Regions from separate parts of the Homo sapiens genome. Here region 1 is linked to region 2. Evidence: promoter capture Hi-C in human tissues and cell types (Jung and others, 2019). All regions are on one chromosome and are shown on one strand. Each heading gives the region's core, a stretch centred on a gene start or on the middle of the fragment in contact. The rest is flanking DNA. Distances are from core to core; before and after follow the strand shown.

Region 1 (3,313 bases), core at 158-2,657, 54 kb before region 2:
TTTGCTTTTTGATGATCTCCCACCCGCTAGCAGTGGCGATTCAGGTAAGTGGTAGGAAAAATCCAAGGTGCTGATGGAAATAATACATAGTATTTTACTCTTATGTGAAATTTATGTATAGGTTTTAACGGGATTTTGGATGACATTAAGTCATAATACAGCATAAGGTTTACTAAAACTATAAACAGGCACATTAATTGGAAGCACAAAGATAATACTGTATCACTTTCTGGTGATATTAACTTCTTGAGGTTCAGATTGTTGGAACTGCCTTTAAGAATTAAGAGTTCACTAATTTACTCTTAACTTTGTTATTAACATTTTTTAAAAATTCAGAGTTCATTATTCCGATTTGCCTTGTTAAACAGAGTGCTTGACTCAAATGTATCGAGGCTAGTAGCATTGGCTCTACCTCCTCCTGAAAATGTTCCTTTTCATGTCCTAATTAAGTAGAAGGGAAGAATAGAGCAGATTCCTGTTGCCATTGCGGCAAAGGTATGATTCTGTCTCATGAGAACTTCTTAGGTAGAGCTCCTCTGGTTGGGGAAGGTGAGGGTTAGGAGAGGTTGGGAGATAGATGGTGTGGGGGCAGTGGGGAATGCAGGTAATCCCATTTCGTATGCAGGTATATTTTCTATATTTTAGGAAAAGTACTCCAGTCATCTTATATAAGAATTCTCAATCTTCAGGGCTGTAGACCCATACCAAAAAATTGCAGCATCCTCACACTCACAGTGTGGCCTGAAACCTTCCCAATAAAGATAGTACCCTTAGTTGTAATGAAAGTTAATATGTTCTGGCTGGGCGTGGTGGCTCACGCCTATAATCCCAGCACTTTGGGAAGCCAAGGCGGGTAGATCACTTGAGGTCAGGAGTTCAAGACCAGCCTGGCCAACATGGCGAAACCCTGTCTCTACTAAAAATACAAAAATTAGCCAGGCATGGTGGCATGTGCCTGTCGTCCCAGCTACTCAGGAGGCAGAGGCAGGAGAGTCGCTTGAACCCAGGAGGCAGAGGTTGCAGTGAGCTGAGATCACGCCATTGCACTCCAGCCTGGGTGACAGAGAAAGACTCTGTCTCCAAAAAAAAGGAAAGTTAATATGTTCAAAGAAGGCTGTTAAGGGATTTAATAGAAGAAATGAAGATACAGCATAGCTGTCTCTTATTTATCTACAGGACAAAAGGCAAAGTAGTAAAAAATTTAGAAGATTTACATAACACTATTAACAAGCTTAATTTTTTGGATATATAATCTTGGGTCTAGTGTTTTAGATTTCTAGAGAAGTTAACACATTTTTTTTTTCTTGAGACGGAGTCTCACACTCTCACCCAGGCTGGAGTGCAGTGGCACAATCTTGGCTCACTGCTACCTCCACCTCCCGGGTTTAAGCGATTCTCCTGCCTCAGCCTCCTGAGTAGTTGGGACTACAGGCGTGTGCCACCATGCCTGGCTAATTTTTGTATTTTTAGTAGAGACAGGGTTTTCCCATATTGGCCAGGCTGGTCTCGAACTCCTGACCTTGTGATCTGTCCGCCTCAGCCTCCCAAAGTGCTGAGATTACAGGCGTGAGCCACTGCACCCAGCCGATAACACATTCTTTTTTTTTTTTTCCTTTTTTGAGACTGTCTCTCTCTCTGTTGCCCAGGCTGGAGTGCAGTGGCGCGATCTCAGCTCAGTGCAAGCTCTGCCTCCCAGGTTCATGCCATTCTGCTGCCTCAGCCTCCCAAGTAGCTGGGACTACAGGCTCCCGCCACCACGCCCACCTAATTTTTTTGTATTTTTAGTAGAGATGGGGTTTCACCATGTTAGCCAGGATGGTTTCCATCTCCTGACTTCGTGATCCGCCTGCCTCGGCCTCCCAAAGTGCTGGGATGACAGGTGTGAGCGACCTTGCCCGGCCCGATAACACATTCTTAAGCGGGCAGGAACCATTTACAAAAGTTGATTATGTACTAAGCCATAAAATAAGCCTCAATGATCTGTTTCTTGTACAGACTACATTCTCAGACTACAGTGTAATTTGCTTAGAAGTCAATAACAAACCTGTAAGGTGTCTTTATTTTGAAATTTTATTATTTTTCTTTTTTTCTTTTTCTTTTTCTTTTTTTTTTTTTAAGACAGTCTCACTCTGTTGGCAGGCTGGAGTGCAGTGTTGCGATCTCAGCTCACTGCAACCTCTACTTCCCGGGTTCAAGTTCCTGTCTAAGCCTCCCGAGTAGCTGGGACTATAGGCACCTGCCACCACACCCAGCTAATTTTTTGTATTTTCAGTAGAGACGGGGTTTCACCATGTTGGCCAGGATGGTCTCAATCTCTTGACCTCATGATCCGCCTGCCTCTGCCTCCCAAAGTGCTGGGATTACAGGCATGAGCCGCTGCGCCTGGCCTTTTTCTTTTTCTTTTTTTTTTTTTTGAGATGGAGCCTTGCTCTGTTGCCTAGGCTGGAGCGCAGTGGCGAGATCTCAGCTCACTGCAGCCTCCGCCTCCTGGGTTCCAGTGAGTCTCGTGCCTCAGCCTCCCGAGTAGCTGGGATTACAGGCGCTACCATGCCCGGCTAATTTTTTGTATTTTAATTAGAGACCGGGTTTCGCCATGTTGGTCAGGCTTGTCTTGACCTTCTGACCTTAGATGATCTGCCCATCTCAGCCTCCCAAAGTGCTGGGATGACAGGTGTGAACCACCACACCTGGCCATCTGTTTTGGAATTTTAAAGGAAGAAAGTTTCACATCCATATGGGGAAAACTGGAACCCATACAGTAAGCCACAGGACACTAATGGGGACCTTTGGGAGAGATACTGTTGGAAACATCTGTGTTGCCTTATGCAGGGTGCATATGTGTATTATGTTATACTGTTGCAGAAATAGGGCCTTGTGCAACTAATTTACGCTTCTTGAGGGCAGGAACATTTTCATTACTTTTTCCTCAGCACTAAGAAATGTCTGACACAGGCGGTTCAAGACCAACCTACCCAACATGGTGAAACTCCGTCTCTACTAAAAATACAAAAATACAAAAATTAGCTGGGTGTGATGGTGCACTCCTGTAGGCTGAGACAGGAGAATTGCTTGAACCCTGGAGGTGGAGGTTGTAGTGAGCTGACGTTGCGTCACTGCACTCGAGCCTGGGCGACAGAGTAGACTCCGTCTCAAAAAAAAAAAAAAGACACCTTGTGTTTACCAAAAAAATTAAAAAATTAGCCGGGTGTAGTGGTTCCTGCTTTCAGTCCCAGCTGCTCAGGAGGCTGAGATGGAAGGATCACTTGAACACAGGAGTTGGAGGCTGCAGTAAACTGTGATCATGCCACTGCAT
Region 2 (3,087 bases), core at 296-2,795:
AGAAGCTGTGCATTCACCACTCAGCCCCACAACAGTCCTGGAGGGTGGGTGCAATCATTGCCTCTTTTACAGCTGGGGAGACTGAGGCACAGAAGGTTTCAGTCACTTGCCCAAGATCACACATTTAGGAAGTGGTGGAGCTGGAATTTGAACTCAGAGCTAGGCTTGGGGGCCCAGGCTCTGAACCCTGCATTCCACGTGGCCGGGTGGAGGCTGCTAAACAGAAACGGCCAGCCAAAGGCAGCGTTCTGGAGGGTTTCGCGTCACCACGCCCGCATGGTTGAAGTCAGCAAGGCCGCTTTCAGGCTCATGTAATTATGTGCATGTGGTTTATGTCCTTCTGGTATCGCACCCTAAGACAACCATCCCTAGGAGAGATCAAGTCTGTGCACAAGCCTTCGACCCGGGTCACCCCAGGGCGAAAGGCTGCGCAGCGGAGAGGCCGTTCGCCCGCTAGGGGGCGCCTCGCGGGGCCATCCCGGGCAGGAGAGGCGGCCGCGCGTCCACAGGTACAAAATGCGTGGGAACGCCACGCATGGAAATGACAAAGCTCAGCTGGAGAACCAGGAGGCCAAGAATCTGGCCCGGGCAGCCACGGTGCAGGTACAGGTGCAGGCGATGGGAGCTAGGGCTCCCCGACTTCCCGACCCCGGTGCCACCTCTTGACCCCAGAGCGGGGAAGCACCTGGGAGCCCACAGGGCCTCGCGGACCAACCCGGGCTCGCGCACAGGGCAGCTCACGTGGCCGGGGCCCCACACCCCAGCATCCCGGCCGGTACACGAAGTACCCACCCAACACTGCATGCATGGGGTTCCTGCCTGGCCCCTCCCCAGGAGGCGCTGGCCCCGGTGAAGGCGGCTCTGCCCTCCCTGGGCAGCCGGGAGATGAGCTGGGGCCTGAGTAGGTGACAGGGCTGTCCCTGGGCCACCGCCTGCAGGCCTCACATTCCCGTCATTGTTGTGCTCCCTTGGGCCAGCTGCTGCCGGGCGATGGGCAGGCACGCATGAGCGCCCCCACTTCCCCTGGGGGCCTCGGGGTGCCTGCTGACACCTGTCACCCTGCAGTCCCTGCATGGGTCGGGGCTTCCTGAGGGTCTCAGAGCCTCACCCCAGTGCCTGCCCAGGCCCGGAGTGAGGAAGCCGAGTGGGCAGGACAACAAAAGGCCTGAGCCCAGCCAGGCTGGCGACTGTGGCTGAGTGGCCCTGGCTGCCATCTGAGGGGTGGCCCAGCCTCCCCCTCCCACCTCTCCGGCTGGGACATGGAGGGAAACCTGTCTCCTGAGCCCCCACCCTGAGGAGCCTGGCTTGGCCGCTGGCAAGGGCCAGGGGGCGTCTCCAAAGCACCCTGCTGTGATCCCTGGCCTCGGGGGCCTAACCCACCCTCCCCGCTGCTCCTGGCTGGGTTCCCCCTGCCCTCTCTGCTGTCCCCTGCCCCAGAGCCCCCTGGATCCTACCTCTCACTCAGCCTGGACCTCGAAGCTGAGAACACAGACCCGAGAGAGCAGGACTGCCTAGCCGGCAGCCAGGGGACACGGAGGCCTGCAGGGCGGGGCAGGGCTGGTCTGGTGGCCACGTGGGGAGGGTATTTTTAGCCTCTGTCTGCAGGGCGAGGGGAGGGTCAGGCAGTGAGGGCTGGGCTGGTGGGGGAAGGAGTGAGATGCCGGCTCCTTGGTGACTGTTAGCTCAGAAAGCCCACTGAGGCCTTCCAGGGACTTGTGGCCTAGGACAGACATCAGGAAGGGCTCCAGGGCAAGGACAGGTGAAAGCTGTCGCGGTTGGGCTGGCTGGTGGGGGCAGGGATGCAGCTTCCCCACCTGTTTCCTCGTCTACAAGTTGAGTACAGTGGAGCCCGTGGTGGGGGCCTGGGGTCACAGAGACCCTCAGCCCAGGGCCAGGACACCGACAGGTGCTGCCCTCGCTGTTGATGTCAGCGGCACCTATGTGTCCTCTTGTTCTGTTGTCACGTGGGAAAACGTGATTATCATGAATAAGCACAGGTTGGTCAGCAGAGGCTTTCCGAGCTTGGGGTCCATGGTGGCGGTAGGGAAACTTTGCCCAGAGAGGGGAGGTGCCACACTCAGTTGCCCCGCCCAGCTAGCGTGGATAGGGGAGATCTTGGGGCTCCTTGCCCTGCTACCCCATGGCCTTGGCCTCGGGGCTGCCCAGGACGGCTAAGAAACAGGGTCACCTAAAAATACAGCAGTGGACTATCAGCCTCCCGTCCAGCACTTGGTTCACGGTAGTCGCAGGGGGAAGCTCTCACGCCTGGGACTGAAATGGGCTCAGAACCACAGGCCCTGACCAAGGTCAGGTGGGTTGAGTTGGGGACCCAAGAGGCCACTGGACATTTCTCACACCAGTGACCAGAGCAGAGCTTTGTGGCTGAGGGACTTCAGGTGCATGGGAGAGAAGCCCTCAGCCCTCAGCCCTCTACCCATCGGCCATGTGGGCCTGAGCAGTATGACCATTTCCAGGTGTGCTGCGACCTGGAGGAACTGGGGAGTATTGGGTCTGGCTGTGGCCTCTTGATGCTACTAGGGATTGTCCTAATGCTCTTACAGACCAGAGAGGTCCAGGCGGCCCCCAGGGAGACAGAACCCCACTCCTGGTCCTGAGATGCACACAGCCTATGGAGGGGAAGCTCACCTACAAATTACTGCCAAGTCTGCAAGGTGCCCTTAGGGTTACCTTCCATAGAGATTCCCTGAGTCCATGCTTCCTCTACAGCCCAGCCTGGCCCAGCCATAGCCCAGCCATAGCTCAGCCCAGCTCAGCTATTGCCCAACCATAGCCCAGCCATAGCCCAGCCCAGCTCAGCTATTGCCCAACCATAGCCCAGCCATAGCCCAGTCCAGCTCAGCTATTGCCCAACCATAGCCCAGCCATAGCCCAGTCCAGCTCAGCTATTGCCCAGCCATAGCCCAGCCATAGCCCAGCCCAGCTCAGCCATAGTCCAGCCGTAGCCCAGCCGTAGCCCAGCCCAGCCTGGCCCCTGCTCCTGCTCTTTCCCCTGCTCGTGTCCCACACTGTCCCAGGGTTTTTCCCCAGCCTTGGGCATCAGCCTCATGTTGTGTGGGGGACCCTCAT

The links. The method cuts DNA at HindIII sites, captures the fragments that hold promoters and counts their contacts. A contact is called where the count stands out against the background at its distance.
Region 1: a contact is called between a fragment that was not itself captured here and the fragment with the promoter of KLHL30 in region 2, in 1 of the 25 tissues and cell types used here (psoas muscle).

The regions. Positions count from the first base shown.
Region 1 is chr2:238,191,006-238,194,318 of GRCh38, reverse strand. ILKAP (ILK associated serine/threonine phosphatase) reads left to right here. Exons shown (of 12, transcript NM_030768.3): 3 at 1-44. Among named protein-coding and RNA genes, the nearest start is that of ILKAP, 11 kb to the left of the region's middle. The HindIII fragment of the contact is 3,908 bases long and covers 1-3,313 here.
Region 2 is chr2:238,137,126-238,140,212 of GRCh38, reverse strand. KLHL30 (kelch like family member 30) reads right to left here and starts at 1,545. Exons shown (of 8, transcript NM_198582.4): 1 at 1,455-1,545. The HindIII fragment of the contact is 32,785 bases long and covers 1-3,087 here.